4 separate regions of the Homo sapiens genome follow, and all the other regions are linked to region 1. Evidence: promoter capture Hi-C in human tissues and cell types (Jung and others, 2019). All regions are on one chromosome and are shown on one strand. The core of a region is centred on a gene start or on the middle of the fragment in contact, and the rest is flanking DNA. Distances in the headings are between cores, read along the strand shown. Region 1 holds the start of KCND2 (potassium voltage-gated channel subfamily D member 2). Region 2 has its middle 350 kb from the start of LINC02476. Region 3 overlaps LINC02476 (long intergenic non-protein coding RNA 2476). Region 4 overlaps LINC02476 (long intergenic non-protein coding RNA 2476).

Evidence for each region. The method cuts DNA at HindIII sites, captures the fragments that hold promoters and counts their contacts. A contact is called where the count stands out against the background at its distance.
Region 2: a fragment that was not itself captured here is called in contact with the fragment with the promoter of KCND2 in region 1 in 3 of the 25 tissues and cell types used here (heart left ventricle, mesendoderm cells and thymus).
Region 3: a contact is called between a fragment that was not itself captured here and the fragment with the promoter of KCND2 in region 1, in 4 of the 25 tissues and cell types used here (H1 embryonic stem cells, heart left ventricle, mesendoderm cells and 1 more).
Region 4: a fragment that was not itself captured here is called in contact with the fragment with the promoter of KCND2 in region 1 in 4 of the 25 tissues and cell types used here (dorsolateral prefrontal cortex, mesenchymal stem cells, mesendoderm cells and 1 more).

Annotation. Positions count from the first base shown.
Region 1 is chr7:120,271,691-120,274,671 of GRCh38, reverse strand. KCND2 (potassium voltage-gated channel subfamily D member 2) reads right to left here and starts at 1,497. Exons shown (of 6, transcript NM_012281.3): 1 at 1-1,497. The coding sequence starts at 39. RefSeq lists an enhancer at 732-801 and silencers at 1,242-1,391, 2,311-2,410. The HindIII fragment of the contact is 5,227 bases long and covers 1-2,546 here.
Region 2 is chr7:119,554,290-119,557,270 of GRCh38, reverse strand. No RefSeq gene overlaps it. Among named protein-coding and RNA genes, the nearest start is that of LINC02476, 350 kb to the left of the region's middle. The HindIII fragment of the contact is 6,938 bases long and covers 1-2,981 here.
Region 3 is chr7:119,722,391-119,725,371 of GRCh38, reverse strand. All of the region lies in intron 4 of LINC02476 (long intergenic non-protein coding RNA 2476), which reads left to right. Among named protein-coding and RNA genes, the nearest start is that of LINC02476, 180 kb to the left of the region's middle. The HindIII fragment of the contact is 7,150 bases long and covers 1-2,981 here.
Region 4 is chr7:119,742,921-119,745,901 of GRCh38, reverse strand. The region is part of intron 4 of LINC02476 (long intergenic non-protein coding RNA 2476); the gene reads left to right. Among named protein-coding and RNA genes, the nearest start is that of LINC02476, 160 kb to the left of the region's middle. The HindIII fragment of the contact is 4,324 bases long and covers 1-2,981 here.

The sequences.
Region 1 (2,981 bases), core at 248-2,747:
CCTTGCAAAAGGCAGCCACGCTGCCACCCCCGCCGCCATGATTACTTGAAGCGGAAGGAAGAAGGGTAACGAGGCGTCTACAATGGGTCACCGAAGCAGCCAAAAGTCACCCACTTCCTCCAGTCAAGCAAAGTACTAGTGAGAAACGTGGTCCAGAGGTGTAACTCTTATTCCAAGATAGGGCTCCTGGTAAAGTCACAGTTCTCAGAAGGGCAACTTTCCCTCCAAGACAGGTATTTGGAATAATGGCAACAAAATACAACGTCCTAACAATCACCCTCAACAGAACCCAGCCAAATCTCTTCCTGCAGGTGGGCTAGGCCACCCTCTGGCACAAATAAGCACACAGGTGCAGCCGTTTCTTCAAACAGGTGTTTTTGATTTCTCCCCGGCACAGTCTGGATAATATAGGGTCAGTATGTGGAGTGTAGGATAGAGAAGACGAACGAGAGTCACCCAATAGAATTCTTTCGACGAATTAGGGAACCCTTACACCTACCCTTCTCACTCTTTCAAACCTTCCTTTCCAAGTAGCCCTTCCCGCCAAAGGAGTCTCAAAAAGGCGACCTGTTGTTGTAGCTCAGGAGATGCGGTCACAGCCGCTGCCCCACGTCTCTCTTTGGGGGTCCAGCTGCTGCTGCCTCTACTCCTCGGGCTGTATTTGCAGAGATGGAGGTGATGTGCAGTGGTTACGGTGGGGGGCGTTAATAGAGATTCTCCTCCCCCACGTCTACAAACACCCTCTGTGTCTGCCAAAAGCGTTCGCCCAATCGCCCCTTCACTCTCTTTTCAAGTTCAGCTCAGGTGCAGTGTGACAGTTACAGAGCTCAGGAGCTGGCAGCCGCCGCCGCCGTGGCGGCAGCAGCATCTGCTTCCGCGCAGAACGCGCCGCTCCCGCGGTACATACCTGGCCAAGTGCGCGCCGGGGCTTAGTTGCATAGAGACTTTCTCCTCGCCGTGCACCCGGAAAGGGAAGAGGAGAGAAAGCAGCTCGCGAGCAGCCGAATCCGATGCGCCGAGAGAGCATAAATAAAGCTCAAGCGAGCTCTTCTTTCCCTTCCCCCATCCCTCCGTGCCTCCCTCCTCCTTTTCACCTTCCAAAAGCCAGGCGCAGGCGAGCAGAGCAGCAGCAACAAGTTCAAAAGGTGCGGGGGAGGCGAGAACGGAGGGGACTCGCTCCTGCCAACTTACTGCGGGGCCACTGTCGCGGGAGCCTGGCCAGCGCGGTGCGGGGCTGCGGGGCGGCGGGGCTGCGGGGCGGCCGGGCGGGCGGCGTTGGCGCGGTGGGGCCGGGGCCGGGGCCGGCACGGGCTCTCGTCCGAGCGCGGAGGCAGAAGGCGCTCGGCAGCGCGGGGGCGCGGGAGGGCTGCTAGCTGCTTCCCCGCCAGTGGGTGGTCCTGCATCTCCCCGGGCTCCCCGCGCTGCTCTGCTAGTGCGATCAATAAATAAGGAGAAAATAAATAAATAACCGCGCGCACGCCCCGCCACGCAGGTTAGGAAAGGCGTCTCCTGCCTTTCCCTCGGCTTGACCTTTCTCCGCCCCCGCCCCCTCGGGCTCCTCTCGCTCCACCCCAGCCACCCACCAACCCCGGCGCAAAATGTCACCGAGGGAGAGCATCCAGGTGGATCTGCTGGGGAGAAAAGCGAGCCTCGGATGAACAAAGGGAAGCTTCACGTGCTGGGCTGCGGTGGTTTGGTGGAGGAGAGGAGAAAGGGGACCCGTGCCTTGCTTCTGCCTCTCGAGTCCCGGTTCAAGGCGAGCGTGGGAAAATGGGGGGAAAGAGAGCGAGAGAAGCTGGGAAGGAGGGTGAGCGGAGCGGAATGCGCAGGAATTGGTTGTCTTCTGGGGGCGACTGGAAGGCAAGACCCGCAAAGCTCCGACGCGGAATTTTTAAGTGCATTTCCTCTTTCTGTTTTTATTTATTTTCAAAACCAGATTGTTAACGTTGCAGGGATTGATATGCCATCTGTCCAACTTGCCAAAAAATCAGAGACTCTCCTCGATCGAGGTCTTGACACAACTCCTTTTCCCGTCCTTTACGAATAACAGGGATGTGGAGCCCTTTTCTAAATGTCATCGTCAAGGGGCGTGCGTCTCTGAAAGTTTGCGTCCCCTTCATCCTCTCTGCGCATCACTGCGCATATTTAAAATAGTTAAAAGAGTTAAAGGTGTTCGTATGAGGGGTTACTGAGGTAGAGAGACACAGGAAAATTGTCGCTACCAACCTTTTTGTTTTTCGCGTACCCCGCCCCCGAGTCATTAGGAATCATCCTTAAAACCAAACGTAACACATACAAGCCACTAGATGGCGTGGATGGCGAGAAGTTAAATCTGCACCTAAGGTTTGGATGCTTTAGGAAGGTGAAGGATCAAAATTAACTGGTCCAACAGAGAGTCAGATCACATAAACATCCCCAAACCCCTTCGCTGCCACCCACCTTTTTTGTGTTTATGTGACATATACTACTTAGGCTTGAGTCTGCATTTGGATAGTTGTGGGATGAGATGTGGAGAGTTTCCTTTTGAAATTCCTTTGAAAATTAAATCTAGATTACTGAATCATCATCATCATAGTAATTAAGATCTTTGGCAATAATGAGGCTTCATCTGTATTGATGAAGAATAGTAGCCTAATTTCTACCTAAAAATTACTTTTCATGGCTTGGTTTGACTGCCCTTGGTTTGTAAAATAAGTGGACTGTGTGTTGTACTTTACGGAAATTGACTTTTAAGCCCTAGAGATTACAGGCATGATGTGTCAACCTTGAAAATTTGAAATGGGATACGTCAAAGAAAATATATAAACTAAAAAATGAGTATAGAAAATAACCAGAGAATTTAAAATATCCTTATCATGTACAGGATTTTCTGTAGAGATAAAAGGGTATTTTTTGTTTGTTTATTTGTTTACAGAATAGAGATTTAAGGAATCCTGTGTCAGTAGTAATGAAGTCAGAGCTAATGCACCATTTAAGTTTGA
Region 2 (2,981 bases), core at 140-2,639, 720 kb after region 1:
CTATTACAAAATTGGGCAATGGGAGGCCGAGACGGGCGGATCACGAGGTCAGGAGATCGAGACCATCCTGGCTAACACGGTGAAACCTCGTCTCTACTAAAAATACAAAAATTAGCCAGGCATGGTGGCGCGCGCCTGCAGTCCCAGCTACACGGGAGGCTGAGGCAGGAGAATGGCGTGAACCCGGGAGGCGGAGCTTGCAGTGAGTCGAGATCGCACCACTGCACTCCAGCCTGGGCGACAGAGCAAAACTCCGTCTCAAAAAAAAAAAAAAAAAAATTGGCAATATTTGCAACTCAATCTCTGTGGTTGCCTTTGTAAAGTTGTCTTTGTAAAGTAAAGAAGGACATTTGAATTTGTAATCAATTATTTATTTCAGCTTCAAATAAGTGTCTACTTGCTGGCTAAGGAGCCAATATCTGTTTAGATGACCAGCTATAGTGCTGTTACATTCAAATGTAGAGAATGCTCAACAATATTAACATCAGCAGAAGGATATGTATTTTGGCTCTTAAATTTTAGTATTTTTGCTCTTGAAATGACCTGGCTGAAGGTTGCACATTTTTACACTCTGGCTCACTTTTGTACAGTTTTAGTAACTAGAAAACCATTTCCAAAATATTGTTGTCAGCTGCTGGCCTATTGTCAGTCTAATCTAATTGCTTGGCCAAGATCCCAAGATCCCTTGTTTTTGTTCTGTTGGTCTTTCTTTTTTTTCCATGCAAAACATAGAATTTCTTTGTTCTGTTCTGCAATCATCAAAAGGGATTGGACTTTGATACGCCCTGTTCAAATAGCGTTATTAGATATTTTGCTGAAGACAGTAAAAGGCATTATTTAGGACAATATTAACTTTATTTCTTAAACTCTTGATCCTCCAGAGCAGATTTCTTGAAAGCTATTGTCAGAGGGATGTGAACCAGAGCACCTCCATTTTGAATAGGAGCTGAGTAAAATTAGGCTGAGAACTCCTGGGCTGCATTCCCAGATGGTTAAGGCATTCTAAGTCACAGGATGAGATGGGAGGTTCGCACAAGATACAGGTCATAAAGACCTTGCTGATAAAACAGGTTGCAGTAAAGAAGCTGGCTAAAACCCACCAAAACCAAGATGACGATAAGAGTGACCTCTGGTTGTCCTCACTGCTACACTCCCTTTAGCATCATGAGAATTTTCAAATGCCATGGCAATGTGAGGCAGTTACCCTATATGGTCTAAAAAAGGAGGCATGAATGAATAATCCACCCCTTGTTTAGCATATTATCAAGGAATAAATACAAATGGGCAGCCAGGAGCCCTCAGGGCTGCTGTGTCTATGGAGTAGCCATTTTTTTTGTTCTTTTACTTTCTTACAAATTTGCTTTCACTTTACTCCATGGACCCGCCCTGAATTCTTTCTTGTGGGAGATCCAAGAACTCACTGTTGGGGTCTGGATTCCGACCCCATTCCTATAACAGTATCAATCTGTTAACAAGCATTGAATGTGGCCTTCAAGGAATTATTGATAAATGTTTACTTTCATTGTTTTATTTCAGGCTTTCTAAATCTTCCAGTAGACACATATGTTGGCATCCTGCATCTGATTTATATAGTTATTTGTTTTGTTACTCATAGGAAAACAAACGAATCCATTTGTTTTTTAAAATTAGTGTGGACATATAAATCTGCCTGCATTCATGCTACTAATTTACATAGGGACTTTGTTAGAAATTTACAAATTTATTCCAAAATCTGTCTGTGTACTCAACGTTTACTATCAGTTCTTCTCACAGAGTATGTAGTAAAGAGATGAAACCATAAAACTCATGTCAATACTGTAACACTGTCTAAAGTGTTTTGTAAATGGTAAAATTATAGCAATACACTTTCTGTAAATGAATTTGGTTTTAATAGCACAGGACTCTAGAGATCCTTTGGTTTCTGATTTAGAATGCTAGCCTAAAGCAGGTTGAAAATTAAAGGTTGAAATAGCTTGGTTATCCATGACGTTTTACTACTGTGTTACTGCTGTGGATATAGAACTGATTATTAAAATATTTGTTTCCCCAGTGGGATTTTCATTTCTGGTGTTTTGATCGTGATAAGAGCAGTATTCCTTTAACTGTCCCTTTGGGTATGATAAAATTATTTCAAGTAAATGAGAGTTAATCATAGATTTCATATAAGCTGGACGATCTTTTATCACTACACTGAGAGGTAGTAGCTGACATCTGCATTTCTTGCTTTCCTTTGTCTATTGATTTTATTACCAATGATTATGTGAGTACACACCATTTCTATTTTATTTTGATAGGGTCTGCTCCTCTTCTGTTACAGTTTGCAGTCTACTCTGTGGGTAAAGCTATTCTCTGAGTATTGATGTAAGAAGAAATATTACTGAAGTAATAGGTATGCCAGCTACCTATTGTAAAAGTGATTAACAGCAAAATGAAGCTTACCTGTAATGACTGGAATAACAGAACAAATGTGTACACGTTTGTAGACACACACATGTGCACACACATACACACACAATTGCTTCTGAAGCACTCAACAAACTATTATTTTATAAATCATCTATTCTGGTGGGTAACAAGTTTGTGAATCTTCTATTTTTTTTGTTTCCTGCAGTAATTAAAGGGTCATGACTTCTTCCTCATTCCTGGTAGTAATTCACAAATTCGTGACATAGGTATGTGCTACTGATTGTTTACATAATCTGTTTTTGATGAGGGTGTGCAACATAGCTACACACTGTCTATCTCCAAATGGCCGAATCTAAACTGAAAGCTGACTTGGGCAGGCTGACATTTTGCTGGCTTTCAAATTGATAATTTTTATACTTACTACTTACTTCAAGGAGATAAAAATTAGGAAAAGACTGAGGTTATGAGCAGTGTTACATATATGAGAAGAAAAAGAGAGAGAGATTAGTTATCTATGTTACCTATTAGTTATCATCATCTTTCCTTAACCACAGAGATATATGGGAACAAGCTAT
Region 3 (2,981 bases), core at 283-2,782, 550 kb after region 1:
AGAAAATACAACTTTCATTGAAATTATGTTTAATGACTCTTATGTAGCTCAATTCTCGAATAGTTTTTAACACACAGGAGTGATTGTCCTTTTCATGGCCATTTACTTCCCTACTCTGTCTCTCAGAAACACCAGATAGATTATTGCAGATGTGACTAGACAGTGACAAGGAACTCACTTTTTATACAAAAGTTAGAGGCTGAAAAGTAAAAATTCAAGTATCCTCATTATTACTTCTACCCCCTTATTCTTGGACCCATTTATTTACATACCTGCATTGGTTTAAGAGCTGTCCACATCCTAAAGAGTTGTGACCACTCATCATGGGGTATCACTGAGCTGCTGGCATCTAACATGCACCTTTAAGAGGCCAGTTTATCACTGTCAGCTGGCAACTTCTGGAGTTACATGGTACAGTGGATCCCATGAAATAGGCCCATCTCTCCTCTACATCTTCTTTGCTGAAATCCTGGGTAGCAATTTTCAGGGGTTTTTTCTGTCCTTTTGATATAGGAAGGAGAGAGGGAAATACTGGGTAGAAGAGGGTGGTTCCCCGGCAAAGGCCCCATGCTCATGCCTGGAGACTGCGGTTCTAAATGGGAACTGGCATTTCTGTTTTCGTGCCCAAAATGTTGCCTTTTGGCTTGCCATGCCTCCCATCCTGTGCCTATATAAACCTGAGACCTTAGCAGGCACACACACAGGTGGCTGAACATCCAGAGGAGCAGAGGAACAGAACAGCAGAGAACAGCAGAGAGTGGTGGAGAGTGGCAGAAAGCAGCAGGGCAGCACGCCAGAGAAAAGGAGGGGTGTCTAGACACCCAGAGGAGTTCGGCTGGGGCAGTCGGTGAGGGGTTTGGCTGTTGGAAGTTCCAGCTCCAGGGGAGAATCACCTTCTTACTCCATCTCCCTGCTTCCAGCTCCCCATCTATCCTGCTGAAAGTCACCTCCACCATTCAGTAAAAACCTAGCATTCATCTTTGGAGTCCATGTGTAACTTGATTTTTCCTGGATGCTGGACAGAAGCTCAGGATCCAGAAAGCTGTCACACTGGCCCTCTGCCCTTGCAGAAAGGCAGAGGGTTAATTGAGCTGATTAATACTCAAGCCATCCTCAAACGGCAAAGCTAAAAGGGCACATTGTAACACGCGCCCACCTGGGCTCCTTCACCTGCCAGTCTGTGTGCTCCCCCTCTTGCAAGGCGTTTGAGCAGCCAGGCGACTCAACAGGCGAGCCACACCCTGTCACATTTCCTGCCGGGGGAGTCAGGGAACTCTCCCATTTTACTTTCTACTACCATAACTCGTATCTTAGAATCAAAGGATTAGTGTGGAGATTCTGGTGACTGTTAGGTATGTCTATATAAAACGCATGTTTGAAAACAGGAAAGTGGCATACAGGTAGATCGGCTGAGCATAGTGAACCTAATTCTATAAAATCATGTCTTACCATCACTCCTGACCGTCAGAGGACAACTGCAACTGAGCTCTCAGTCATGAAGCCATCTGGTTACCAGTTTTGATTTTTGTTGTTGTATAATTTTTATTTGTATTCTTTTTTGAAGGATTACTTTATAGACCTTTAGTGGAGTTCTAAGGATGCACCTTTACAATATAAAGATACCCTCTTGCTACTTACCCTTCATACTTTGCATTTCTTATTCTCCTCTTAATTACCAACTATATAAAACAACCTGTAAAAGTGGATATTATTCTCTGTAGAAAAGTTTGTGAAAATAAAATATTTGACTTCACATGTCTTGCCTTGAGATGCAGAACTAGAACAACACAATAAATAGAATAAGCTACTGCTATGGTTTCAATGCATATATTTTTCCAAAATTCTTAGATTGAAATCTAAGACTTAATGTGATAGTATTAAGCATTGGGGCCTTCTGTGAAGTGATTAAGTTAGGTAGGCTTTACCCTCATGAATGGATCAGTGACCTTATGAAAGAACTGGAGGGATTTAATTAGGTCATTTTGCCCTTTTGCCTTCCACCACATAAGGACACAGCAGGAAGGAACAGTATAAGAACTGTTGACAGTTCTGTTGACATCAACTTTGCCAGCCCCTTAATAGTGGACTGTCTATTTCCAGAACACAGAGAAAATTAATTTCTCTTACTTATAAATTACCTAGTCCGAGGTATTTTGTTACAGTAGCATGAACAGTCTAAGACAACTACTTAGCAATATTAGTATTGATTCTAAATGTCATAGAGAAGAGTTGCAGTGTTTATTCTTAATGAGATTAAAACCAACAACATGAATTAGCAAGATACTACATATTCATCATCACCATTCTCTCCTTCAGTTTTAAATCAGCTTTAGTAAAATATAATTTACAAACAAATCCTCCAACTTTCAATGTTTGATTTGATGAGCTGTGTGTATAATAATAGAAACACCAACACGAATATGATATAGAATATTTCCATTAACCCCCACATTTTTATGTGCTTTTTGACAATCAAGGTCACTTCTCATCTCTTACCCCCAACAACCACTTACTTGCTTTCTGGCACTACACTATTGACATATTTCAAACTTTATATAAATAGAATAAAGAATATATAGCAATAATAATTGGCTTCTTTCAAATGGGTTTTTAGAGTTTTCCATTTTTTATCTGTTATGAACAATCAACGATAAGCATTTGTAAATATGGCCACCTTTGCACACATATACTTGTCTTTCAGGGTACATATTCAGTAGAGGAATTGCAGCATAGATAAATTATTTTAATTTTAATATATCTTGACAAAAATGGCTTACAGATTTATGTTCCTAAAAGGTGATCTAAGAACAAAACTTTGTAGAAAAAGCAAATTTATAGCAGTGTCAGATAATTATTTTCTTACCCACTCAGGGAAACTTGATATTATCTGCCTTAGTTTGGGTCCTGCAAAAGCAAAGCCTGAATAAGAGATTAAAATGGTGACATTTTATTTGTTATGGATGAACCATGGGAAATTAGAA
Region 4 (2,981 bases), core at 230-2,729, 530 kb after region 1:
TTTTCAGTAAAAATAACCTAGACATTTAAAAGTTATACGTATTTCATTTTTTAAATAACTAAATAATATTGTAGTGTTGATTTTGTTGTCTACATGTTCATTGCTAGAATATAGAAATGCAAAAATTTTTGTATGTTGATCTTGTACCTTGTGACCTTGCTGAATGCACTAATTAGCTTTACGAAATTTTTGTAGATACTTTGGGATTTTCTACATGGATATTGATATGGTTTGGTTGTGTTCCCACTCAAATCTAATCTTGAATTCCCACATGTTGTGGGAGGGACCTGGTGGGAGGTAATTGAATCATGAGGGCAGGTCTTTCCCATGCTGTTCTCATGATGGTAAATAAGTCACCCAAGATCTGATGCCTCTATAAGGAGGAATTTCCCTGCACAAGCTCTTTCTTTGCCTGCTGCCATCCATGTAAGACATGACTTGTTCCTCCTTGCCTTCCACCGTAATTGTGAGGCCTCTTCAGCCATGTGGAACTGGAAGTCAATTAAACCTCTTTTTCTTCCCAGTCTTGGGTGTGTCTTTATCAGCAGTGTGAAAATAGACTAACACAGACATTTGTGACATCTGCACAAAACAGCAGTCTTATTTCTTCTTTTTGAAACTGTATGCTTTAAATTTTTTTCTTGCCTTGTTTTCCTGTCTAGAACCACTTGTATCAAATAGAATTAGTGGTGAAAGTGAGCATCCTTGCTTTGTTTCCCATATTAGAGGAAAGTCATTCAGTCTTTCACCATTAAATATGATGTCAGCTTCAATTTTTATGTAGATATTCTTTACCAATCCAGGGAAGTTCCCACATATTTATTATTGTTCTGATTTTTTATAATCAAGAATGGATGTTGAATTTTGTCAGAGGTTTGTTCTTTATCTATTGATATGATCATGTGATTTTTTTAAAATTAGCTTGCTAATTTCATAAATTAACTACTTTTCAAATGTGCAATCAGCCTTGCATCCCCAAAATAAACCTAATTTAGTCATAGTGTATATAGATATTTTTGTGTACTAAGTACTATTTGCTAATATTTGGTATAGAATTTTTGCATGTATATTTGTGAGAGATATTGGTGTGTAGTTTTTGGATGTGTGTGTATGTCTGTGTGTGTGTTTTATCTAGTTTTAAAGTCAGGTTAATACTGACTTTAAAGAATTATTTGGGAAGTATTTACTTCTTTTCTGTAAAAAAAAGGGTATAGAATTTGTTTTAATTCCTTTTTAAGTGTTTCTTAGAATTCTTCAGTGAATATCAGGGCTGGAAGATTTCTTGTTGGGTTGTTTTAAAAATTATGAATTCATGTCTTAATAGTTGCAAGGCTATTAAATTATGTATTTTATACTGAAAGAATTGTTTTAGTATGTACTTTTAAAAGAATTGGTTCATAGAGTCCAAATTGTTCAGTTCAGATATGTAGAGCTACTTCTATTATTCCCTTACTATCCTTTTGATTTCTGCAGTGTCTGTAGTTATATGAACTATTGTATTTCTTATATTAGCAATTTGTCTTTACTCTTGAATTTTCTCTTTTGTGAGACTTTCTAAAGGTTTATCAATTTTATCAGTCTTTTCAAAGAACTTTTCCTTTGAATTTAAATAATTATTTCTCCTTATTTATTTATAGCGGTTTTCATTTACATAGAACCCTCAAATGTATCTACACTATGTAAACCACACTGTAATGCCATACTAGCAACACTATTTTGTGAGACTGGATGAATACCTCTAGTACCATAAGTAATTATTATCCTGTGTAATGCATCTCAGCCAGATGCATTATACCACATTCTATGTCATATTAATGAGGGTCTACATTTTTATTAATTATTCTGCCACATTTTAAGTCACAGTAAAAAGAAAATATTATATCAATAAATGAGGCTTTATTCACACAGCAGAAAATATGATTTTATGAAACAATTTATATGCAACTCTCTCGTTATATTTAACCAATGTTTTAATTTACAAAACTACAAAGTACCTTTGTCTTTTCACTATGGCTTTTTGTAAAGATTTCAAGTATTTCTGATGAACAGTAATTTTTTCAGTGTCTACTTAATGTCATTTTCAACATAGTTTTAGGGACATATTAGTGTGTAAAATAGTATTTTTAGAATTATTATTAATAATTACTATTATTCAAGCTAATTACCATTACTATTAATAATGGTAATCATGCTGGTGTCATATTTAGATTGCAACTGACAACTGAATTTAAGTGAGAAAAATATTCATAAATATATTTTTAAATTAACATTACCTCATTTTCTGTAACAACAAAATATGGATATTTAAAAATGTATATTGATTTATTTGTTCATTTATATTCTGTGTCTTTTGTGATAAAAATAACTCATTTAATTTTTTTCAGAAAAAAAGACTGGCAACTTTGTGTGCTGGTTTGTTTTTATATGAATTAAAACCATTGAGTCATAAACTCGTGACAAACTGCACTTACAATAGAATGATGCCAGCAAGATCTGCTATAATTTTTAAATAACAATAATGACAAAGTAAAATAATAGTTTTCATGTTCATCTTGAGTTTAAAAGAATCTTTAACTTTCAGCACTAAATGATGAAGACTCATTATTTTCAATGAGTTAAATTAATAAGAAAAGAAATCTTGTAGCAATCACATTGTAAAACTTTTAGATTTTTGTCTCTGTGTAATAAGCTTTAAGTTTCACAAGAAATACTTATATCTAGTTAGCAGGTTGTAATCTTATTGACTAATAATAGCCATTAGTACTTTCTTTAAATAAAAAAAAAAATTCTCCCTAGAGTAAATTATCATTGCCCACCTTCTGTAACAATTTAGAACACCATTACTATTTCTTTCAAGCTACACAGTGGAATAGAAATGTTTAAACAGCTAGTTGATTCAGTCAAAGCTTTTCCCATTGACATTGTTTAAGAATTTTTTGTTTGTTTTAGTTGAGAACGAGAAATTTTTCAGATGGATTTGC